Linked DNA regions of Homo sapiens: all the other regions are linked to region 7. Evidence: promoter capture Hi-C in 16 types of primary human blood cells and fetal thymus (Javierre and others, 2016). All regions are on one chromosome and are shown on one strand. The core of a region is centred on a gene start or on the middle of the fragment in contact, and the rest is flanking DNA. Distances in the headings are between cores, read along the strand shown. Region 1 has its middle 35 kb from the start of LPCAT1. Region 2 has its middle 58 kb from the start of MIR4277. Region 3 overlaps TRIP13 (thyroid hormone receptor interactor 13). Region 4 holds the start of ZDHHC11 (zDHHC palmitoyltransferase 11). Region 5 has its middle 28 kb from the start of MIR4277. Region 6 has its middle 10 kb from the start of MIR4277. Region 7 holds the start of TERT (telomerase reverse transcriptase).

The links. Contacts are between HindIII fragments. The CHiCAGO score rates a contact against its expected background, and 5 or more counts as called.
Region 1: a fragment that was not itself captured here is called in contact with the fragment with the promoter of TERT in region 7 in 1 of 17 cell types (total B cells); the score reaches 5.5 in total B cells.
Region 2: a fragment that was not itself captured here is called in contact with the fragment with the promoter of TERT in region 7 in 8 of 17 cell types (M1 macrophages, neutrophils, naive CD8 T cells and 5 more); the score reaches 7.3 in M1 macrophages.
Region 3: a fragment that was not itself captured here is called in contact with the fragment with the promoter of TERT in region 7 in 4 of 17 cell types (fetal thymus, M1 macrophages, non-activated CD4 T cells and 1 more); the score reaches 8.2 in fetal thymus.
Region 4: the fragment with the promoter of ZDHHC11 here is called in contact with the fragment with the promoter of TERT in region 7 in 2 of 17 cell types (erythroblasts and monocytes); the score reaches 5.3 in erythroblasts.
Region 5: a fragment that was not itself captured here is called in contact with the fragment with the promoter of TERT in region 7 in 1 of 17 cell types (neutrophils); the score reaches 5.2 in neutrophils.
Region 6: a fragment that was not itself captured here is called in contact with the fragment with the promoter of TERT in region 7 in 2 of 17 cell types (total B cells and neutrophils); the score reaches 6.1 in total B cells.

The regions. Positions count from the first base shown.
Region 1 is chr5:1,557,816-1,560,977 of GRCh38, forward strand. No RefSeq gene overlaps it. Among named protein-coding and RNA genes, the nearest start is that of LPCAT1, 35 kb to the left of the region's middle. The HindIII fragment of the contact is 918 bases long and covers 1,222-2,139 here.
Region 2 is chr5:1,648,816-1,652,405 of GRCh38, forward strand. No RefSeq gene overlaps it. Among named protein-coding and RNA genes, the nearest start is that of MIR4277, 58 kb to the right of the region's middle. The HindIII fragment of the contact is 4,657 bases long and covers 1-3,590 here.
Region 3 is chr5:899,943-903,509 of GRCh38, forward strand. TRIP13 (thyroid hormone receptor interactor 13) reads left to right here. Exons shown (of 13, transcript NM_004237.4): 4 at 552-607; 5 at 1,399-1,489. Among named protein-coding and RNA genes, the nearest start is that of TRIP13, 8.8 kb to the left of the region's middle. RefSeq lists a silencer at 3,152-3,446. The HindIII fragment of the contact is 227 bases long and covers 2,119-2,345 here.
Region 4 is chr5:849,110-852,408 of GRCh38, forward strand. ZDHHC11 (zDHHC palmitoyltransferase 11) reads right to left here and starts at 1,877. Exons shown (of 13, transcript NM_024786.3): 1 at 1,272-1,877. The coding sequence starts at 1,493. RefSeq lists enhancers at 569-1,220, 1,221-1,870. The HindIII fragment of the contact is 1,490 bases long and covers 862-2,351 here.
Region 5 is chr5:1,679,539-1,682,815 of GRCh38, forward strand. No RefSeq gene overlaps it. Among named protein-coding and RNA genes, the nearest start is that of MIR4277, 28 kb to the right of the region's middle. The HindIII fragment of the contact is 6,095 bases long and covers 1-3,277 here.
Region 6 is chr5:1,696,760-1,700,364 of GRCh38, forward strand. No RefSeq gene overlaps it. Among named protein-coding and RNA genes, the nearest start is that of MIR4277, 10 kb to the right of the region's middle. The HindIII fragment of the contact is 3,672 bases long and covers 1-3,112 here.
Region 7 is chr5:1,293,818-1,297,214 of GRCh38, forward strand. It overlaps TERT (telomerase reverse transcriptase), which reads right to left and starts at 1,251. Exons shown (of 16, transcript NM_198253.3): 1 at 954-1,251; 2 at 1-849. The coding sequence starts at 1,172. RefSeq lists promoters at 811-3,397, 811-1,502, cis regulatory regions at 816-1,172, 1,175-1,207, 1,277-1,285, 1,297-1,305, enhancers at 1,199-1,241, 1,212-1,928 and silencers at 1,338-1,407, 1,508-1,597. The HindIII fragment of the contact is 13,041 bases long and covers 1-3,397 here.

The DNA.
Region 1 (3,162 bases), core at 431-2,930, 260 kb after region 7:
CTTGGCCAGCACGCTGCCTTGTTGCTGCACTGGTGCCTGAAGCATGGCTCCTGATCGGCGTAATAAATGCCAGCTGCCATGGGAAAATGTGTCTCAAAGTGTGTGCATTGCTACATCCAAGAACAAGCCACTTTCTAAGACGAAAGGAGCATATCCCAGGCATTTTAGCAGTAATTGGTCTCACATCTATTCCTATTACATCTGCAGTGACTTCCTTCACTGAAGGCTGGAATCCCTGAAAGTCATCCATGAGGATTGGAATGAACCTCTTCCAAACGCCTGTTCATGCTGACACTTTGACCTCCTCCCATGAATCATGAATGTTCTTAGTGGCATCTAGAATAGTGAATCCTTTCCAGAAGGTTTACAATTTACTTTTCCCAAATCCATCAGAGGAATCACTAACTATGGCAGATACAGCCTTAAAAAATGTATTCCTTAAATAATAAGGCTTGAAAGTTGAAATGAGTCCTTGGGCTGTGGAATGGGTGTTGAGTTAGCAGGCATGGAAACAAGATTCATCTCCTTGTTCATTTCTATCAGAGCTCTTGGGTGACCAGGTGCATTGTCGGTGAGCAGTAATATTTTGAAAGGAATCTTTTTTTCTGAGCGGTAGTTCTCAACAGTGGGCTTAACATAGTCAGTAAACCGTGCTGTAAACAGACATGCTGACATCCAGGTTTTCTCGTTGCATCTATAGAGCAAGGCAGGGTAGACTGAGCATGGTTTTTAGGGGCCCTGGGATGTTCAGAATGATCCATAAGCATCGGCTTCCAATGAAAGTCACCACTGCACCAGCTCCTAACAAGAGCGTCAGCCTGTCTTTGAAGCTTTGAAGCCAGGCACTGACTTGGCCTCTCTAGGTAGGAAAGTCCTAGATGGTGTTCTTCCAATAGAAGGCTGTTCTATCTACATTGAAAATCTGTTGTTAAGCGCAACCACCTTCATCAGTGATCTTAGCCAGATCTTCTGGACGCGGAAGGTAACTTGCTGCAGCTTCTCCATCAGCACCTGCCGCGTCACCTTGCGTTTTTATGTTATGGAGACGGCTTCTTTCCTTAAACCTCATGAACCCACCTCTGCCAGCTTCCACTCTTCCTCTGCAGGTTCCTCGCCTGTCTCAGCCTTCACAGAATTGAAGAAAGTTAGGGCCCTGCTCTGGACTAGGGTTTGGCTTAAGGGAATGGTGTTGCTGTTTTGACTGTCTATCCAGAAAACAAAAGCTTTCTCTGTATTAGCAACAAGGCGGGTTCACTTCCCATCATTCATGCACTCTCTAGAACAGCACTTGTGATCTCCCTTAAGAACTTTTCCTTTGTCTTCATTACTTGTCTCACTGGTGCAGGCCTCGCTTAGCTTTCAGCCTATCGCAGCTTTCAACCTGCCTTCCTTGCTAAGCTGAATCATTTCTGGGTTTTGATTTAAAGTGAGGCGTCGTGGCTCTTCCTTTGAGCACTCTGAGGCCATGGAAGGTTTAGTAACCGGGCCAATTTCAATATTGTTGTGTGTCAGGGAACAGGAATGATTGGGAAGAGGGAGAGAGGTGGGGGAACGGCTGACTGCAGGGGCAGCTAGAACACACCAAACATTTATTAAGTTTGTGTCTTATATGGGTGCAGTTCATAGCACCCAAAACAATTACGTCGGTAACATTGAAGATCCCTGATCACAGATTGCCACTGCGTATATAATACTAATGAAGAAGTTTGAACTGTGGCAAGAATCACCAAAATGTGACCCAGAGCCACGAAGGTGGCACACGCTGCTGGGAAAACTGCGCCCGTGGAATTGCTCCACGCCGGTTGCCACAAACCTTCAGTTTGTAAAAAAAGTAACATCCATGGAGCAAAATCAAGCAAAACACCACAAGACAAAGTACACCTGTATAGCTCTCTATAGATCTACATTTTTAAATACATAGATCTATATAATTTATATAATACTTACATAATATCTCTATATAGTATATATTAGGTATGCAATATTGATTATACAGAGCTACATGTAGATCTATAAATTATATACATAGCCAATATTTTAAAACATATAAGAATGACTCTTTATAATGGCAGAAGACATAAATGTCCCCTCCTTTTCTATCTATGAATCTGGAATCTGACAGAGAAACCAACCCTCACAAGCTTTCGTCGTACGATGGGCCTGGCTTCACTGAATCCTATCTATGAACCTGGAATCTGACAGAGAAACCAACCCTCACAAGCTTTTGTCGTACGATGGGCCTGGCTTCACTGAATCTGCATCTTATGTCACACTTATTGCCAGCAGGACCTGCCTAGTGACATTTAGCTGCCCTTCGAGTGGGCTGGCACCAGATGGAAACTGGACATAAGCTTTCGTGAGAGATCGTGTGCAGTTCCTGAGCTTTGTGTTACCAGATACTGTCTCTTCTCAGATGAGGGTCAAATTGAAATTTCATTACAGAAACCACCAGTCGCCACTGTTGAAGTTCAGAAGGGGTCCACCTAGTAAGGAAGGAGACCACTACTACTCCTGCTGCCCACCTTGCCTAGTTCACAAGACAGGAGGAAAGAGAGAAAGCAAAGAGTTGGAAAGAAACAAAAGTAAGATAAATAGCTAGATGACCTTGGCACCACCACCCAGCCCTAGGAATTAAAAAATAATAATAACATCAACCCCTGACCTAAACTACTTGTGTTATCTGTAAATTCCAGACGTTGTATGAAAAAGCATCGCGAAACTTTCTGTTCTGTTAGCTGATGCATGCAGCCCCCAGTCACGTTCCCCACGCTTGCTCGATTTGTCACGACCCTTTCACGTGGACCCCTTAGAGTGTAAGCCTTTAGAAAGGCCAATAATTTCTTTTTCAGGGAGCTCGGCTCCTAAGACGCAAGTCTGCTGATGCTCCCGACTGAATAAACCACTTCCTTCTTTTTTTTTTTTTTTGAGACAGAGTCTTGATCTGTCACCCAGGCTGGAGTGCAGTGGCATGATCTCGGCTTACTGCAAGCTCCATCTCCCAGGTTCACATCATTCTCCTGCCTCAGCCTCCCAAGCAGCTGGGACTACAGGTGCCCACCACCACGCCCAGCTATTTTGTATTTTTAGTAGAAAGGGGGTTTCACCATGTTAGCCAGGACGGTCTTGATGCCCTGACCTCGTGATCCACCCATCTCAGCCTCC
Region 2 (3,590 bases), core at 1,065-3,564, 360 kb after region 7:
CATAAACCTTTTGGCCACTTATATGTCTTCTGTTGAGAAATGATCTTTTGTCTACTTTCTATGGGATTATTTATTTATCTATTTTTTTCTGTTGTTTGATTTCCTTGTGTATTCTGGATATTGGCCCCAAAAAGCAAGCGAAAAAATGCTCAACATCATGAATCATTGGGGAAATGCACATCAAAACCACAATGAGGTATCATCTACCCCAGTTCAGATGGCTTTAATTAAAAACAAAAACCATAACAAATGCTGGCGAGGATGTGGAGAAAGGGGAACCATACACACTGTAGGTGGGAATGTAAATGAGTACAGCCGCTATGGACAACAGGATTGAGTTCTTAAAAAATTAAAAATAGAGCTACCCTATGATCCAGCCATCCCCGCTGATGGGTATTTATCCAAAGGAAAGGGAATCCTGTGTGAAAGGGAATCTGGGCCCCCCTGTTTACTGCAGCACTGTTCACAATGGCAAAGATATGGAATCAACCTAGGTGCCTATCAATGGATGAATGGATACAGAACACGTGATATCTATTCGCGATGGAATACTCTGCAGCCATACACAAGAATGAAATCATGTCGTCTGCAACAACATGGATGGAATTGAAGGCTGTCATGTTAAGGGAAGTAAGCCGGGGTAGAAAGACAAATGTACCATGTTCTCACTCATTTGTGGGCACTGAAAGAGTGGCTCTCACAGAGGCAGAGAGTTGGCTGGTGGTTCCCAGAGGCTGGGCAGGGTGTGTGGGTGAGAGGCAGACAGAAAGTGAGGCTGGTTACGGGGCACAAACATGCAGTCAGGGGAAGGAGTAAGTTCCAATGTTCCATAGAACAGTTCACAGACCAAAGGCAACAATCATTTACTGTTTCCTTCCTTCCTTTCTTCCTTCCTTCCTTCCTTCCCTTCCTCCCTCCCTTCTTTCTTTCTCTCTCTCTCTTTCTCTCTTTCTTTTCCTTCTTTCTCTTTCTTTCTCTCTTTCTCTCTCTCTCTCTCTTTCTTTTTCTTTCTCTCTCTCTCTCTTTCTCTCTTTCTTACTTTCTTTATTTCTTTTTGACAGAGTCTCACTCCAGGCTGGAGTGCAGTGGAGGCATGATCTCGGCTCACTGCAACCTCCGCCTCCTGGGTTCAAACGATTCTCCTGTCAGCCTCCCGAGTAGCTGGGATTACAGGTGTGTGCCACCATGCCTGGCTAATTTTTGTGTTTTCAGTAGAGACAGGGTTTTGCCATGTTGGCCAGGCTGGTCTCGAACTCCTGACCTCAGGTGATCCACCTGCCTTGGCCTCCTAAAGCGCTGGGATTACAGGTGTGAGCCACTGCACCTGGTCCGCTGTATATTTCAAAATAGCTAGAAGAACTGGAATCTTCCCAACAGAAAGAAAGAGTAGATGTTCCAAGTGATGGATATACTACATACCCTGATTTGATCACTACATGCTGTGTGCACAATCAAAATATCACAACTGCCCTGTAAATATGTACAATTATTATGTATCAATAAACACTTTTCAAAAAATTTTAGATTTGATTACAAAGACATTAAACCCTGTGACACTTCAAAAAACACCATAACAAAACAAACAAAATCCAACAAAAACCGGAAGCACGCTGTGACGGTTTTGACATCTGATGTCCTCAGTGTCTAGAGGTCTTACGGGAAGAAGGAAGGCGCAATCGAATGAAGTTAGATGTGGAAATAGAATCACAACAACCCAGGAAGATGCAATTTGAGTTTTAACGATGAATTTAGCAATTTGCTTAAAAATAGTAATAGTCAATGTTGGCAAATATTCAGAGGAATATGCGTTTTCAGATACTAGTAGCAAAAGTATCAGCATAATTTTGTTCTGGAGAGGGGTTTGGTAATATGCACCAGAAGCCTTCCAATGTGGCTGACCTAGCAATGCTGCCTTTAGGGTGATAAACTGGCAAGTGGTCAAAATCCGCTCTGTGGCCTGTTGCTGCACGGCCAAGAGCTCGGAATGGTCCGTTACTGTGAAAACGATTAGCGAATAAGGAAGAGTGTGCGGTGGAGACCATCTTCCCCGTCCCCGCCCCCAGCACAATACTGACTCTCTAGCTGTCTGCAGAGCACGTTTGCAGACCCCTGATCTATGTGGAGGAGTAAACAAGTAAACAACAAAACGGTCCAGGTGTTCATTTTGCAGCATTTAGAAAATGTTGGTAAAAATAAAATAAAGAAATAAAGGGCCTAAATGTCCGTCTTTCCAACCTCATGGAAGTAGTTCAATCGATTCTGGCAAATGCAAATCCTGTCGTGTTCGGCAGCCGCTACAGGTAGACAGTGCTGCTGAAGAACTTCCAGTAACATGAGAAAACACTCATGAGAGGGTCGTGCTAAGTGAGAGCATTAAGTTATACAGACGACTTTATTCCAATTTTAATTTGAAGGTGTGTAAATAGAAAGAAATGGAAAGAAAGAAAATACTTGAACATCTTAATTACTGGGTGTTCATCCCGGGTGTGGGGAAGCAGGGGCTTCGGGTGAGGGTGGTGGGGGGTATGAGGAGTTTGGAGGTGGGTGGGAGGGGATCCCTAAAGTGACAGAGTCCTGGGAGCCCAGGGCTTGGAAGCTCACCACCTGGCAGTGCAGCCATGGGATCCAGACAGCTTCGCTGGACAGACGCACCGTGAGGGCTGGGGTGGGTCCTGGGGAGGGCAGGGCCAGAAAAGGGTGGGGCTGGGGAGAGTGGGGTCAGGGGAGGGCGGGGCTGGGGAGGGATGAGGCCTGGGGAGGGGTGAGGCCTGGGGAGGGTAGGGCCTGGGAAGAGTGGGGGATGGGGAGGGGTGAGGCCTGGGGAGGGTAGGGCCTGGGAAGAGTGGGGGATGGGGAGGGGTGAGGCCTGGGGAAGGTGGGGCTGGAAGAAGGTAGGGCTGGGGAGGGGTGGGGCTGGGGGAGGGATGAGGCCTGGGGAGGGGTGAGGCCTGGGGAAGGTGGGGCTGGGGAGGGGGGGGCCACAGAGGGCAGGGCAGGGGTAGGGCAAGGCTGGGGAGGGATGATGCCTGGGGAGGGGTGGCCTGGAGATGTCAGGGCTGGGGAGGGTAAGGCTGGGGAGGGATGAGGTCTGGGGAGGGGTGGGGCTGGGGGAGGACCGGCCTGTGGGGCAGGGCCTATGGGGGCATGGGGCCTGGGTCCTCGGGGCCTGGGACAGTGTCACTCTTCCCTTCCTTGGCTCATCCTGTGACCCGAAGAGCCTCTGCCAGGCCCTGGGCTCCTGCTGAGCTCCTGCTGAGAACAAGGCAGCCTGGTTTTTCTTTGATCTCCTGCCCCGAAGGTTGATGAGGGGATGGAGGGTCTGGAGCAATGGCCCAGACAGGGTGGAAGTTCCCTGGGGAAGAAGGGGGTGCCTGGAGTGGGTGGGTGGTCAGGGACCTTTCGAGAGGAGGGGTCTCAAGGTGAGGGCTCCTCAGGCCCCCGAATGTGGGGCAGGGTGGGTGCACAAGCAGAGGCTGTGGGGGAGGTGCTGGGCAAGGGAAGGGCAGGGCCCATTCTTAGGAGGAGCCTGAGAGTGGGACAAGAACAGATAAATTCTCAGGGAGAATGGGGTCCCTCGCCATGGGGGGTCC
Region 3 (3,567 bases), core at 982-3,481, 390 kb before region 7:
TTTGGATGGGCTCTAGCAGGCCAAGCCCAGGGCTTCATTCAGTCAGTGTGTGGGGAAACAGGTGGATTTGGCATCTGGACTTGTGCTGAAGCATATGGATAAAAGACAATTGTAAGTGGCTATGATCATAAATTTTATAATGTGTTGTTCACCACCAAAAAATGATAGTTTAATGAAAACATATTGTGGGGATTATGTTATACGTCAATGGAAAATAAATGACAACAATACCTTAAAGAAGGATGGGAAGTTAAAGTTTTTTTAAAAGACAATTGTGCGTGATAATGAGACGTAAAGTGTAATTCTTTGACTCCATCCAGTTGTCTGCCAGAAGTTACATGTGACTGGCATTTATTTTGCATCTTTGATTTTAATAAAAATCAAAATTTGAAGAAAAATTTGCAGAATTTATACTTTCCTGTAATCAGAATCATAGTCTTGCCTGGAGCAGCACAATGGGAAGCTCAGGCTTAGGCTCAGGGGAGACTGACTGGGGGTGGCTGTAATTGCTTGCCTTCCTGAAATCAGGTCTTTGTTTAATTCTGTCACAGCTGAATTCCATGGGCTTTGGGACAGCTTGGTATACGATGTGGAAGTCAAATCCCATGTAAGTTGCTGTGCCTTTTCCCAGAATGCCCTGTTATTTGAAGAGGAACCATTACTGTTTTGCTCTCCAACACCCCTGAGCAACTTGATGCAGATGGGTTTTTGGGAGCCCCTGTCTGCTGGCAGCCCTTGTCCTGGACATCTATCCTCTAGTATTGCTCCAGAGTAGAGCTGGTCTCTGAGGAGCTCCCTGAGGGAGAAGAGGGAAAGGGAGAACGTGAAGGCAACTTAGAGAATTAAACCCTCTGGAGATGGGAGGAGGGAAGGTGAGCAAGCCTGGTCCGCACAAAGGAAAGGCCGGTGTGTCTTAACCCCTGCACCCTCTTCAACGGGAAGGGTCTTTCCCATGCCAGCAGCTGGCTAGAAGACTATCACTCAGCTGTCCTCTGCATTGATAGTCTGAGACTATCACTCAGACTGCTCCTCTGCATTGTGGCTGTTGTTATTTTGCGAATAATAACTGCTGTATCATTCTAGGGAAGGAGCTTACTCATTACTTGATAAACAAACCCCTTAGTGGTTTTGTTTAATGTTGGCACTTTAAATAAAAGTGATCATTTTGTTGCTCTTCTTATATTTATAATAGTAATAGCCAGTGTTTTTCCTTTTCCCTTTTGGAAGCACCTTCTCTTCTGAAATGAAAGCGTTTGGAGGTGATGATCTCTTAGGAGGCGGCCTCGCTCCCTGTGCTCCCTCTTCTCATGTAGGATTAAGCCCTGGGGGAGGGCACATTTCTTGGGGACCTTTGCCTTGTTGGTATCTTTGTCAAGCTCTTTTCTTTTTCTCTATCAGCTCCTCGATTATGTGATGACAACTTTACTGTTTTCAGACAAGAACGTCAACAGCAACCTCATCACCTGGAACCGGGTGGTGCTGCTCCACGGTAAATTATGCAGGCTTTTATTTGACCAGATAAGTGGCATGAAATTTAGCCTTTACTTGTACCTTCGTCCTTCTGCAAGGAGTTACGGCTCTTTGTTTTCTGAAGGAGCCACAGCTGTCCTAGAATGTCCCCTCTCTGTGAAGCAGATCCAGCTCATGACACTTGGGACATTTTTTGTTTGTTTGTTTGTTTTTGTTTTTGAGACAGAGTCTCGCTGTCGACCAGGCTGGAGTGCAGTGGCCCGATCTCGGCTCACTGCAACCTCCACTTCCTGGGTTCCTCCCAGGTTCCAGCAACTCTCCTACCTCAGCCTCCCGAGTAGCTGGGATTACAGGCATGCGCCACCACACCCAGCTAAGTTTTGTATTTTTAGTAGAGACGGGGTTTCACCACGTTGACCAGGCTGGTCTCAAACTCCTGACCTCAGGTGATCCGCCCGCCTCAGCCTCCCAAAGTGCTGGGATTACAGGCTTGAGCCACCGCGCGCGGCCCCTGGGGCATTGATTACTCGGCACTTAATCAAGTCTTCCTGTGGGGGGCCACATTCCAAGACATCCTCAGATGCCCCAAACGTGGATAATACTAAACCTTATGTAGACTATTTTTTCCTACAGACATTCCTATGATAAAGCTTAACTTATAAATTAGGCTTGTAGTACTCAGAGCTTTACTTTGTGAGGAGTAAACTGAAAAAGCCATATTTTAAAGAAATTCTGTCTGGTTCTTCTCAGGAGAAAATACTGATGGTTTGTTGTTTGGTTTTGTTTTGTTTTGTTGTCAATATCACCGGGTAGAATGGGGACACGGGAATTGAGTGGACTCGAGAGTATGAAACTGTAGCCAAGTGTTAAATAGAAGCTTGAAGGGTACTTGGCTTCTTTAAGTCAGTTAAGATTGCGTGACAAAGTGACCTTAAAACACAATGTTCTTTTAAAGAGCAGACAGGCCCCGCATACTGCCCTCATAGCACAGTCAGAGTAAGCAGCAGGTGTTTTAATTAGTGAAATAAGTTGTTTCTGTTTGGAACCAGTTACGTATTTCCTCTTTAATTCTTGAAAATACCTGCAGAAAATTAGAGTTGTATGTCTCCATTTTCTGTTAGATGCTTTCCTTTTTCCATATTGGTCACCTCGCAGCTTCTGTGAGGCATCTTTTGTAGGGTCCAGCCCCACAGGGTTGGTGAGTTTTCTCCCCATGTGCAAAGACGAGAGAGTGTAGAAATAAAGACACAAGACAAAGAGATAAAAGACAGCTGGGCCTGGGGGACCACTACCACCAAGACGCGGAGACCGGTAGTGGCCCCGAATGCCAGGCTGCGCTGATATATATTGGATACAAGACAAAGGGGCAGGGTAAGGAGTGTGAGCCATCTCCACTGATAGGTAAGGTCACGTGGGTCACGTGTCCACTGGACAGGGGACCCTTCCCTGCCTGGCAGCTGAGGCAGAGAGAGAGAAGAGAAACAGAGAGACGGCTTACACCATTATTTCTGCATATCAGAGACTTTTAGTACTTTCACTAATTTGCTACTGCTAGCTAAAAGGCAGAGCCAGGTGTACAGGATGGAACATGAAGGCGGACTAGGAGCATGACCACTGAAGCACAGCATCACAGGGAGACAGGCCTCTGGATGACTGCGGGCGGGTCTGACTAATGTCAGGCCCTCCACAAGAGGTGGAGGGGTAGAGTCTTCTCTAAACTCCCCGGGGGAAAGGGAGACTCCCTTTCCCGGTCTGCTAAGTAGCAGGTGTTTTTCCTTGACACTGACGCTACCATTAGACCACGGTCAGCTTGGCAGCGGGCTTCTTCCCAGACGCTGGCATTACTGCTAGACCAAGGAGCCCTCTGGTGGCCCTGTCCAGGCATAACAGAAGGCTCGCACTCTTGTCTTCTAGTCACTTCTCACTATGTCCCCTCAGCTCCTATCTCTGTATGGCCTGGTTTTTCCTAGGTTATGATTGTAGAGCAAGGATTATTATAATATTGGAATAAAGAGTAATTGCTACAAATTAATGATTAATATTCATATATAATCATATCTAAGATCTATATCTAGTATAATTATTCTTATTTTATTT
Region 4 (3,299 bases), core at 627-3,126, 440 kb before region 7:
GGCCCTGCACACACAGCCCTGCTTACCCAGGCCTAGAGAAGATGAGGCTACCCATTGGCCCTGCATACACAGCCCTGTGCCAGTCGGGGACCGGGAAGGCTGCCCCCGTGCCCCTTTTGGTTCATCCCTGTTGGACACAGGGCAAATCCCCCACAGAATGTACCGCACCCCCAGAGGCTCAGTCAGCCCAGCCAAGCACAGTGACCCCAAAACCCTTTACAGCTTGAGGGACAGAGCAGGGCCACAGGAGGGACATCCCAGGTATAAACACAGCCGGATGCAGCCCCAAAGGCCCTGGAGGAGCCTGGGTTCTTTCATACCAGAGACCCCTGAGCACTGGGAGAGAAGACAGCCTCAGACAGGAGGAGCAGGGGGAGGAGCGAGGGAGCTGCACAACCTACCCGCTCCCTGTAGACCCCAGACAGCTCACTCAGGGACCCTCTCCCCGAGAATAGCTCAGGGAAACCCCCCTCAGACTCCCTCAGGGCCCCTCCGGACTCTCTCGGGGACTCCAGACTCTCTCGAGGACCCCAGACTCACTCAGGGACCCTGGGCCTCTTTCTTGGGCCCTCTGGGCTCAGAGCCTGGCTGCGGGGGCACTGGGGAGAGGATCCTTGTCCCCTGGAGCCAGGAGAAGCTGGGCTCCCCGTGCCTGGGACGTCAGCTCCCGCCCTCAGATCCTGGCTCCCTCCTCCTCTCACCCTGGGACAAACACAGACTCTCCATGGCAACCAAATAGAAGGGGTGGAGTGCGGGGCCCTCCAGTCACCCTGCCTGGCCCCTGGACCGCCTTCTAGCCAGGAGTTCAGGGTTGACAGCCATCTCCGCAGGGCAGCCCAGAGGCCCTCGCAGTGTGGCCTAAGCTTGGCATGGAAACGCAGGCTGCCGACCTGCGGGGCATGGCGCTGTTCCTCCTTGGCACCAGGGGCAAGGAGAAAGGTGCTGGCCATGTGCAAAATGCTGCGCAGGGATTTTAGCGGAAGGCTGCCAGCAGGGCGGGTCCTGCGCCACGCCAGGGGGCTGCTGTCCCTCCTGACAGATTCCCTCTCCGGAGCCCCCTCAGCCAACGCTGTCCTGTCCTGACCCTAAGCAGGGGCTGCACAGAGCATGAGTGGCCACTGGGCCCACCTGCAGGCTCAGGGGACATAGTCTGGCCCAGGGCAGGTGACTGGTGCCACCGGGCAGCCATGGCCCAGACCCCACAGCCAGGTCCATCGCAAGTTCCTCCAGGAACCCCTCCCGCTTAGACCATGCCACGATGAAAAGGATACCACGTAGGCAATGTATTTCCACGCGTGAGGCAGGAAGGGAATGAAGATCCCGAAGGTGGCCGAGGAAAGGCCCACGAAGACAGCCCAGGTCACCACCTGGAAGTAGTGCAGGGGTAACGACCAGCCGTTCACTCTGGAGATGCGGGGCGGCAAGACCAGCTTTTCATTATTGAGTATGGCTTCTGGGGTGACGGAACACTGGCTCCCGGAGCGGGTGTCCATCTGCAGGACACAGAAGGGGAGGACCTGCGCCGTCAGATCCTGGGAGGGCCGGCCCCGCCCACTGTCACAGAGACCAAGGGGACTGGGAATGCAGCCGCCAGGACCAGCACTGACAGCCAATGGCCCAGCACTGCCTGGGGCCACGTTCCCCGCAGAGGGAGCAGGGGCTGGGCTGGAGTCGGTGCAGGGCCCCGCCCAGGGGAATGAACAGACATGCTGCAGAATGTGACCCCGGCCAGAGCCGAGTGGCAACGGAAAACGGCTCTCCAGGGTGTGGAGGACCCAGTGCCCGCGCGACCGCCCATCAGTTCCCCTGAGGATTTGTTACGTTCTGGGGAGTGCTCGACAGCCCCCACACAGCGACAGGTCCCACAACCCGTTCACGAATACACAGGCCCACCCAGGACTCCCCAGGTGCAAGAAGAAAACCCACGTCAGAAAGAGGCCACACTGAGCAGAGGGCTGCGCCTGTGAGAAACTGAGGCAATGCCTGAAGAGCTCGTGAGCCGTTACTCACTGGTGCAACACTGAAACCTGCCAGATCCTCCCTGAGAGGCTTCTCTGAGCTTCCCAGAGGAGCAGGACCCGAGAGCTCACTTCACAGGGTCCTGTGTGTCTCCCCTTCCACAGGACAGGGAAGCCCGTCCAGCCACGCGGGGCTGGGGTCTCCGCCCGGGTGGACAGTGGCTGGGAGGTTCTGAACACGCTGCGGCTGCTCCTGGCCAGTCAGGTGGGGAGGGCGGCAGGGGTGGGAGGGACGTGGTGTCACAGAGCGGCAGTGAAAGACACTCAACGGCCGCTACGGGGTGGGGGGTTGATCTTGAGGGGCTGGGCGGTCTCTACAGAGGAGGGTTAGGAAGCTTCGCCACGTTATGCCTCGCTCAAAGTCCTTGTTGTCTCTTTGGGAAAAAACCTTCAGAAAATGAAGTTGATATTAAATGTATTTCTTTGAGAAGAGAGACATTGAGAAATAGTTAACAATTCTTCGTTCTTGCAGTCGTGAACGTCCATGATACAGTGGCTCTGCGCTGCCTTTGGTGGCTCCTCCCTGGTCCTCTAAATGTGACACCAGGCGGATGCGGGGCCACAGGACCCTGGGGCTTGAGTCACACAAGAATGTCTCTGGGAGACCCGAGAGACTCACAGTTATGAAACAGGACCATGGTTCTTTGGCCGGGCGCGGGGGCTCACGCCTGTAATCCCAGCACTGTGGGAAGCCGAGGCGTGCCTATCACCTGAGGTCAGGAGTTCCAGACCAGCCTGGGCAACACGGCGAAACCCTGTCTCTACTAAAAATACAAAGATTAGCAGGGCATGGTGGCACATGCCTCTAATCCCAGCTACTCGGGAGGCTGAGGCATGAGAATCGTTTGAACCTGGGAGGTCGAGGCTGCAGTGAGCCAAGATTGCACCACTGCATTCCAGCCTGGGCAACAGAGGGAGACTCCATCTCAAAAAAAAAAAAAAGAAAGAAAGAAAAGTCAAAGTTACCAAGGAAGGAAATAGAAACACAGAAAGACAACCCTGTACATTAAAAACACAATTCCCAGTTAAAAACAAAACCCAAATGAAAGTGCCAACAAACAGAAATGATGTCGCCAAGTCACATTGGTAAAACCTGGAATATCAAATCCAGGAAGGACCACAGATCTTAGAGAGGAGAAGAGGGGAATCGCTCAGCGGCCTTGAGCCTTGAGCCTGGAGACAACACGTTCATCTGTCAGGATTTCAGAACAGAAAGGTGGAGAGTCTGTGAGAGAAAAAAGAAAACACTGAAGAACTTTGAGAAGACTGAAGACTTCAGGT
Region 5 (3,277 bases), core at 486-2,985, 390 kb after region 7:
TTCTGTTGATGTGATATTCACCATGTTTATTGATTTGTATGTGTTGAGCCATCCTTGCATTTCTGGGACAAAACCCAATTGATTACAGTGTATTATCTTTTGATGCATTTTTGGATTCAGTTTGCCTGAGTTTTGTTGAAAATTTTTGCATCTATGTTTATCAGGGATATTGGCCTGTAGCTTTGTTTTCTGTTGTGTCTTTGTCTGGTGTGGTATGGGGCTAATGCTGGCCGCATAGAATAAGTTAGAAAGAATTTCTTCCTCTGCAATTTTTTGGAATAGTTTGAGAAGATTTGTGTTTGTTTTTTAAATTTAAGTTTGGTAAAGTTCGGCAGTAAAGCCATCCTGTCCCAGGCTTTTCTTTGTTGGGAGACTTTTTAGTACTAATTCAATCTTGTTACTCATTATTGGTCTGTTCAGGTATTCTGTTTCTTATTGGTTCAATCTTTGTATGTTGTATGTCATCGATTTCTTCTAGGTTTCCCATTGATTAAAATATAATTGTTCCTAGTAGCCTCTGATGGTCTTTTTTATTTCTGTGGTATTAATTTTAATGTCTCCTTTTTGTTTCAGATTTTGTTTATTTGGGTCTTCTTTCTTTTTTCTTGGTTAATCTGGCTAGCAGTTAATTAATTTTGTTTATCTTCTTTAAAAAACTCTTTTCATTGATTTTTGTTTTTTTTAGTCTGTATTTTGTTTAGGTCTGTGCTGATCTTTGTTATTCTTTTTTATCTATGATTAAGTAATTTTGGATTTGGTTTGTTATTGCTTTTTTAGTTCTTTGAGGTTTATCATTGGGTTGTCTATTTGAAATCTTTCTGCTTTTGTGATGTAAGTGTTTATTGTTGTAAACTTACCTTTAGCACTGATTTTGCTGTGTCACATAGGTTTTGGTGTGCTGTGTTTCCATTTACATTTGTTTTAAGAAATTCTTTGATTTCTTTCTTAATTTCTTCATTGACCCAATAGGCATTCAGAAACATATTGTTTAATATCCACATATTTGTACTGTTTCCAAAGTCCTTCTTGTTATTGATTTCCAGTTTTATTATGTTGCAGTCTAAGAAGATACTTGATATAATTTTGATTTTTAAAAATTTGTTGAGACTTGTTTTGTGGCCTAACTTATGGTCTATACTGGAGAATGGCCCATGTGCTGATAAGAAGAATGTGTATTCTCTAGCCATTGAATGAAACATTCTGTAAATGTTGCTTAGGTCCATTTCATCTAATATGCAGTTTTAATCCAACATTTCTTTGTTGATTTTCTGTCTCAATGATCTGTCTAATGCCAGGAGTGGAGTGTCGAAGTCCTCAAATATTATTGTATTATAGTCTATCTCTCCCTCTAAATACAACGTTTGCTTTATGTATCTGGGTGTTCCCGTGTTGGGTGCATATATATTTAGAATTGTTATATCCTCTGGCTGAATTGAACCCTTTTAAATTATGTCATGACCTTCTTTGTCTTCTTTGACTGTTTTTGACTTAAAGTGTTTTATTAGGTCATTGTTGCATTACTATAAAGAAAGAAATACCTGAGACAGGGTAATTCATAAAGAAAAGAGGTTTAATTGGTTCATGATTCTGCAGACTATACAGGAAGCCTGGTGCTGGCATCTGCTTGGCTTCTAGAGGAGACCTCAGGATGCTTACAATCATGGTGGGAGATGACAGGGAGCAGGCACATCACATGGCTAGACCAGGAGCAAGAGAGAGACAGCCGGGGGTCAGGGAGGTGCCACACACTTCTAAATGATTGTATCTCATGTGAACTCAGAGCAAGAACTCACTTATCACCAAGGAGATGGCCCAAGCCATTTATGAGGAATCTGCCTTCATGATCCAGACATCTCCCACCAGGCCTTAACTCCAACATTGGGGATTACATTTCAACATAAGATTTGGGTGGGGAAAAAAATCCAAAGTATATCAAGTCTGTTTTATCCGATAAGTATAGCCTGGTGGCAGCAGGCCAGTCATGTCTGTCTTTCAGCCCCTGGATGATACAGGTGAACACTAGTGTTAGTGGGTCCAGGTGGGCTGATTCTTGGACCTCCAGGCAGTTTGCTTGGGTGCCAGTGGCTAGTGTCCTGGGACTTTTTTCAGGCCTCTTGATGGTCTGGACACATGTGCATGGTGATAGACAGGGTGAGTGGACCCAGGGTGTCACTGGGGATCTGGAGATGTGAAGAGGCAGGGGCTGCTGGGCCCCAGGTCAAAATGCAGCCTGGTGGCAGCTGGGCTCTCAAAACAGTGCTGTGCTGCAGCTGCTTGGGTCCCTGGGAGTATGTGGGACCCTGCATGAACTTCCTCTCAGGAACAGTGGTGTCACATGGACTCCAGGCAGCTCTCTGTACTAGACTCAGTGCCCATGAGGCTGAGGGGCTCTCCTGTGACTCGGATTGCAGGGTCTGTGGTCGGGATGTGGAGCGTGGGAAATCTCACACGGACACTTTCCAGGCTCCTTGCCAGTCCCAGCCAGGGAAGTGACTTGCTACCCTCTCCTTCCGTGCCTCAGATTTCCCCTGCCGTGTCCCTCCTGGTCTCTAGTGTCCCTCCTAGATGCTCCACTTGACACGTGGCTATCTGCTCTCTGCTTTGGTCCTTCTTTGTGGATGGGGTGAGTGTCAGCGGCCTCTAGTGTTCCTTTGGAGCCATCTTGAAGATCCCTCCCAAAGTAATGATTTTTTTTTTCACAAAGTCAATTCAGAATTCTATATCTAGTTAAAATTTCCTTATAGAAATAAGGCAAAATAAAGTGAATTCCAGCTGATACCAGCTTTTACTACCAGCAGAACTGGTAATTCAAAAATCATTAAGGCGGGGCGCGGTGGCTCACGCCTGTAATCCCAGCACTTTGGGAGGCCGAGGCGGGCGGATCACGAGGTCAGGAGATCGAGACCATCCCGGCTAAAACGGTGAAACCCCGTCTCTACTAAAAATACAAAAAAAATTAGCCGGGCGTAGTGGCGGGCGCCTGTAGTCCCAGCTACTTGGGAGGCTGAGGCAGGAGAATGGCGTGAACCCGGGAGGCGGAGCTTGCAGTGAGCCGAGATCCCGCCACTGCACTCCAGCCTGGGCGACAGAGCGAGACTCCGTCTCAAAAAAAAAAAAAAAAAAAAAATCATTAAAGGCATTTCTTCAAGGTAGAAAAAGAAAAAGATAGATCAAAACTCCATCTACTTGAAGGAATTAAGACCATTAGGAATAATAAATATGTGCGTAAATTTAAAATATTCTAAACATTCTTTCAGTGTATTAAAATAATGATTGA
Region 6 (3,605 bases), core at 27-2,526, 400 kb after region 7:
CAGTTGAAGGATCTTATGAGTGGTCTGTCGTGCCCCCGCTCGCATTTCCTTTAATGCCATTGTAGTCATATATTTTACTTCTGTGTTCGTTGCAAACACCAGAAGATCACTTTAAACAATCCATACACTCACACTGCCCCTAACAGTTATCCTTTGTGGTGCTCTTCATTCCTTTCATCCTTTCCCCCATGAACATTTTCCTTGAGCTGAAAAATGTGGCTTTAGTATGCCTTGTAAGGCAAGTATGTTGCAGATAAATTTTCTCAACTTTTTAAATAACCACATCTTTATTCCACCTGCATGATTTAAAGCAGCAGTCCCCAACATTTTTTGGCACCAGAGATTACTTTTAATGGCAAAAACCGCAATTACTTTTGAACCAACCTAGTAATTATTACATTGTATTATATACTGAAATAATTATACAGCTCACTATCACGTATAATCAGTGGGAGCCCTGAGCTTGTTTTCCTGCAACTCGATGGTCCCATCTGGGAGTGATGGAGACAGTCACCCCCAAAGTGTGTTGCTTATGTCCGGTGTACTCTGTAATCTCGTTTTGGTTGCTGTCACTGCAGAAAACTCTGCTTCACAAAGACAGGATGTTGGGCATGGAAGCAGGTTTTTCAGTGCGTTTGTGGCAATCTCAGGATATTCCACCTTGACTTTAGTCCAGAACATATGGAGATTTGAAGTTGTCTCAAACACACTTGTAAGGCCACCATTATTTGTGATCTCAAGCAGCCGACCCTCTTCTAGCAAGGACAAAGTCGATTCACCTGGCTTATTCACAAATGGGTCACGGATCCATTCCTTCCCAGTTCGGGGTTCTTTTGTAGTTGGGAAGTAATGCTCAAGCTCTTTTGGAAGCTGAAAGGTGATCATGCACCAGCTGGGGGAAAGAAGGCCCTGGCTCAGTCTCTTTCCAAACAAAACCTCCGCTAATGTTTGAAACATGTCAGAAGTCCCAGTGTTCACTCATTGACCCATAATTCCAGTCTGACTTTTAATGCAGCCACTTTATCTCCTGACTTGAACACAGTTGTCCCTCTCCCTGAAGTGACGGTTTGTGTTGCTGGTTGAATATGTCACACAAGTAAGCAACATTTGTAGCCCATTCTATGTCACTGAAATGTGTTGCCAGTGGTGACTGTTTTTCTAAAAGAAATCTCTGGAGTGGCTCTCATAACTCAAAATCTCGGCCAGTGATCTACCTTTAGAAAGCCACCTCATTTCTGCATATCAGAGGAGCCATCTCACTCCTGTCACACATGTGTCACTGTAAGCACATGTATTTCAGAGAAGACGTGTGTGCTCTGCATCCGTCTCCTCACAGAGCTGCGTGAACAGACATGAGTTAAGGGCATGTACTTTAATGAGGTTGATAACTTTAATCACATACTGCAAAACTTTATTAAGTTGAGGCAACATTTTCCAGCTACCCAGCATTTCTCTGTGGATGACACAGTGCATAGACTTACATCCAGAAGCGACCTCTTTGACACAAGTAGTGAAACCAGAAAGCCATCCAGTCATGGCAGCCACTCCCTCTGTGTGTACACTGACACAAAATGGCCAGTTCAGTTTTCCTGATACATAATCATTGAAAGACTTGAATAGTTCTGCAGCTGTGGTGTTGGTTGGCAACAAAAGTGCACCTAACATAACCTCGTGCACAGCCTCCTGAAAACGGATCTCACAACAACAAGCATTGTTGCCTTGCTGTCAACATCAGTAGACTCATCAGCCTGGCTTGTGTACCACGGTGACTCATTAATCGTCTCTGACAATTGTGCCTCAATATCCTCTGGAATTTTCTCAATTCCTCTAGGTACGGTGCTAGCCAAAAGAGGAACACGTGCCACCTTTTGAGCTGCAGCCTCTCCTAAAAGTTCACGACAAATGTCCTTAGCGCAGGCAAGATCAGCTGTTCACCAACAGTAAAGGGCTTCTTAGCTTTAGCAATGCAGTTAGCCAGTAAGAATGATGCTCTCAGTGCAGACACATTTGAAGTGGTGGCCTTCAATCATTGCTTCTGTTCTTCGTGGTCACACTTTTCTTTTTTCCTTTTGAAAAACTCCAAAGGCTGGTCTTTTAACGCAGGGTGCTTGGTCTTCATATGGCGAAGCAGTTTTGAAGGTTTCATGGCTTCATTGGATAGTCATCACATATTACATTGCAAGTGGGCTTGGAAAATGTGAATCACCTGTTGGAATGAACCTGCAATTTAAGTGGGATTCGTGGTATTTTCTATTAAATGCAGCTTGCTTCTCATTGGCAGTCATAGAGTCTTCTGCTGCCTAACCATTGGGACTTTCCCCCTTTTCAAAGCCCTCCTGTGATGTTTCTTTTTTACTCGTTTTGGCTAGGGTTAGCTCGTGGGCTTACCAAAACTGTGACTGAGACAAGCGTGCAGTGCGGGAAAGAGGCATGAACAGAAGTGGTAAATAAAATAATGGGTGGGCCTCACATGGACTAAAATAAGTGTAGGATTCCAACTTAAAGCCTGCCACCAGATGCAGCTTAATTGTCACTTGCCAATCACTAATAGGGTTTTGCTATGAGTCTGCAACCAATTGATTTATTAGGGTCTCTGTGCAGTCAGACCTCTCTGCTAATGTTAATCTTCATTTGCAGCAGCTCCCCAGCAGTAGCCTCAGATCATCAGGCAGTAGATTCTCACAGTGAGCGTGCCACCCAGATCCCTCACATGCACAGTTCACAATAGGGTTCGTGCTCCTATAAGAATCTAATGTTGCCGCTGATCTGACAGGAGGTGGAGCTCAGGTGGTAATGTGAGCGATGGGGAGTGGCTGTAAACACAGGTGAGGCTTTGCTCACTCGCCCCAGCTCACCTCCTGCTGTGCTGCCCAGTTCTTAACAGGTCATGCACCAGGGCTGGTCCATGGCCCAGGGGTTGAGGGCCCCTGCCCTACAGACTATCTTGCTGCAGGTGGAATTTTAGGCTGGTGGTTTCTTTCCTTTCCTTTCACTGTTCACAGGTAGCATTCCATTGCCCCACGACTTCCATAATTTCTGTGGAAAGTCACTCATGTGTCCAGTTTTCTTTCTCCTTTGAAAGTACCATGGAATCATTCTTTTGCCAATCTTAAGCTTTTTTCCCCTTGTCTTTATTCTATTTGTGTTTACTGAATTTCTTGAACCTGTGAGTTGATGTCTTTAAGGGTTTGAAAATATTAGCCATTCTCTCTTCAAATAGTTCCATCATGTTCCTTTCTCCTTGCAGGATGGGATTGTTGAAAATATTTTCCCCATGTCCTTCACACTCTGTTACATTTTCTTCATTTTCTGTTCTTTCTGGGTTTCAGTTAGTGTACTGTTTATTGATTTGTCTTTCAAATTCCATTTTCAATTAATTAATTCCATTTTCAACTATAGTCAGTTTATTGGTGAACCCATCTGATGAATTATTATTATTATTATTATTATTATTATTATTATTATTTTTTGAGATAGAGTCTCACTCTGTCACCCAGGCTGGAGTGCAATGGTGCAATCTCAGTTCACTGCAACCTCCTCCTACTGGATTCAAGCGATTTTCCTGCCTCAGCCTCCTGAATAGCTTGGATTACAGGTGCCTGCCA
Region 7 (3,397 bases), core at 1-2,500:
GCCAGTCAGGCTGGGCCTCAGAGAGCTGAGTAGGAAGGAGGGCCGCAGCTGCTCCTTGTCGCCTGAGGAGTAGAGGAAGTGCTTGGTCTCGGCGTACACCGGGGGACAAGGCGTGTCCCAGGGACGTGGTGGCCGCGATGTGGATGGGGGGCCCGCGTGGTGCTGGCGGCCCACGGATGGGTGGGAGTGGCGCGTGCCAGAGAGCGCACCCTCCAAAGAGGTGGCTTCTTCGGCGGGTCTGGCAGGTGACACCACACAGAAACCACGGTCACTCGGTCCACGCGTCCTGCCCGGGTGGGCCCAGGACCCCTGCCCAACGGGCGTCCGCTCCGGCTCAGGGGCAGCGCCACGCCTGGGCCTCTTGGGCAACGGCAGACTTCGGCTGGCACTGCCCCCGCGCCTCCTCGCACCCGGGGCTGGCAGGCCCAGGGGGACCCCGGCCTCCCTGACGCTATGGTTCCAGGCCCGTTCGCATCCCAGACGCCTTCGGGGTCCACTAGCGTGTGGCGGGGGCCGGGCCTGAGTGGCAGCGCCGAGCTGGTACAGCGGCGGCCCGCACACCTGGTAGGCGCAGCTGGGAGCCACCAGCACAAAGAGCGCGCAGCGTGCCAGCAGGTGAACCAGCACGTCGTCGCCCACGCGGCGCAGCAGCAGCCCCCACGCCCCGCTCCCCCGCAGTGCGTCGGTCACCGTGTTGGGCAGGTAGCTGCGCACGCTGGTGGTGAAGGCCTCGGGGGGGCCCCCGCGGGCCCCGTCCAGCAGCGCGAAGCCGAAGGCCAGCACGTTCTTCGCGCCGCGCTCGCACAGCCTCTGCAGCACTCGGGCCACCAGCTCCTTCAGGCAGGACACCTGCGGGGGAAGCGCCCTGAGTCGCCTGCGCTGCTCTCCGCATGTCGCTGGTTCCCCCCGGCCGCCCTCAACCCCAGCCGGACGCCGACCCCGGGGAGGCCCACCTGGCGGAAGGAGGGGGCGGCGGGGGGCGGCCGTGCGTCCCAGGGCACGCACACCAGGCACTGGGCCACCAGCGCGCGGAAAGCCGCCGGGTCCCCGCGCTGCACCAGCCGCCAGCCCTGGGGCCCCAGGCGCCGCACGAACGTGGCCAGCGGCAGCACCTCGCGGTAGTGGCTGCGCAGCAGGGAGCGCACGGCTCGGCAGCGGGGAGCGCGCGGCATCGCGGGGGTGGCCGGGGCCAGGGCTTCCCACGTGCGCAGCAGGACGCAGCGCTGCCTGAAACTCGCGCCGCGAGGAGAGGGCGGGGCCGCGGAAAGGAAGGGGAGGGGCTGGGAGGGCCCGGAGGGGGCTGGGCCGGGGACCCGGGAGGGGTCGGGACGGGGCGGGGTCCGCGCGGAGGAGGCGGAGCTGGAAGGTGAAGGGGCAGGACGGGTGCCCGGGTCCCCAGTCCCTCCGCCACGTGGGAAGCGCGGTCCTGGGCGTCTGTGCCCGCGAATCCACTGGGAGCCCGGCCTGGCCCCGACAGCGCAGCTGCTCCGGGCGGACCCGGGGGTCTGGGCCGCGCTTCCCCGCCCGCGCGCCGCTCGCGCTCCCAGGGTGCAGGGACGCCAGCGAGGGCCCCAGCGGAGAGAGGTCGAATCGGCCTAGGCTGTGGGGTAACCCGAGGGAGGGGCCATGATGTGGAGGCCCTGGGAACAGGTGCGTGCGGCGACCCTTTGGCCGCTGGCCTGATCCGGAGACCCAGGGCTGCCTCCAGGTCCGGACGCGGGGCGTCGGGCTCCGGGCACCACGAATGCCGGACGTGAAGGGGAGGACGGAGGCGCGTAGACGCGGCTGGGGACGAACCCGAGGACGCATTGCTCCCTGGACGGGCACGCGGGACCTCCCGGAGTGCCTCCCTGCAACACTTCCCCGCGACTTGGGCTCCTTGACACAGGCCCGTCATTTCTCTTTGCAGGTTCTCAGGCGGCGAGGGGTCCCCACCATGAGCAAACCACCCCAAATCTGTTAATCACCCACCGGGGCGGTCCCGTCGAGAAAGGGTGGGAAATGGAGCCAGGCGCTCCTGCTGGCCGCGCACCGGGCGCCTCACACCAGCCACAACGGCCTTGACCCTGGGCCCCGGCACTCTGTCTGGCAGATGAGGCCAACATCTGGTCACATCCCGCCCGCACAGGGTGGAGGGCAACCTCGGGGTCCAGGCACCTGGCTCCAAGCCTCGGACTGCAGAGCTAGGAGGCCCGACTTCCAGCCCAGCAGTAGAAGCCACACGGCCACTGGTCCCCTCCAGACCTGGGGCCCCGGCACAACCGCAGGACAGCTGAGGACTTCCCAGGAATCCAGACTCCGGGTTGCTCAAGTTTGGATCTAAGGGGCGAGAAACTTCTGGGTCTCCCGAGGCCTTGCAGGGATGCTGTAGCTGAGGTCGGCAAACACTGAAATGCTAACAAACGCAACCTTAAATGTAACCTTTCCTACTTTCAGAAACTGCCGGAGGAAATTGCTTTATTTATGGAGCTAGCATTTGAACAGGCCTCGCACCCTCCCTGGGCTGTCACGCTCGCTGGAGGTTAGCCTCGTCTTGTAAATACTTAGGATTACAGGTCGCTCTTCTAGAAATCCCCTTAGTGATCCCTAAGCCTTTTTAAAGGGCTGTGTTTGTGAATTGTCTCTGCCACTAGGGCAAAGGGGCGGTTTGGAAAATTTGTTCCAACAAAAGTTAAGTTGTAGCTTACACTGGTTCTCTGCAGAGAAGCCAACATAGAAAACACAATTTTAAAAGAGGGAAGAGAAGAAATGGAAGCAGAAGATTATGCTGGAGTAATTAACACCATGTGCATGGCGAGGAAACGCCTCCCGGCATTCAATGAAGATCGCTGATACCCAGAAGACACCCCAGTATTATGGGTGCAGTTAGTGTGTCTTTGAAAAGCTGATGATGTCTTAGTCATCACAGTGTAAAACATCAAGAGTGTTCTAACAACAATAAAAAAATTCTATCATTGGCTTAAAACACCACAACACTTGAGTGGGGTGAGCTTCCTACCTCAGACCCAGATGTTTCTAAACAGAGTAAATTCTGAGCTGGGCATGGTGGCTCACACCTGTAATCCCAGCACTTTAGGAGGCAGAGGCAGGTGGATCATCTGAGGTCAGAAGTTCGAGACCAGCCTGGCCAACATGGTGAACCCCACCCCCACCCCCGTCTCTACTAAAAATACAAAAAATTAGCTGGGCATGGTGGCGGGTGCCTGTAATCCCAGCCAAATGGGAGGCGGAAGCAGGAGAATCACTTGAACCTGGGAGGCAGAGGCTGCAGTAAGCCAAGATCGCGCCATTGCACTCCCTCCAGCCTGAGCAACAAGAGTGAAACTGCCTCTCAAAACAAAACAAACAAACCAACAAATGAAACAGTGGATTCAGTACCAGCAGTGAAAAATAACAA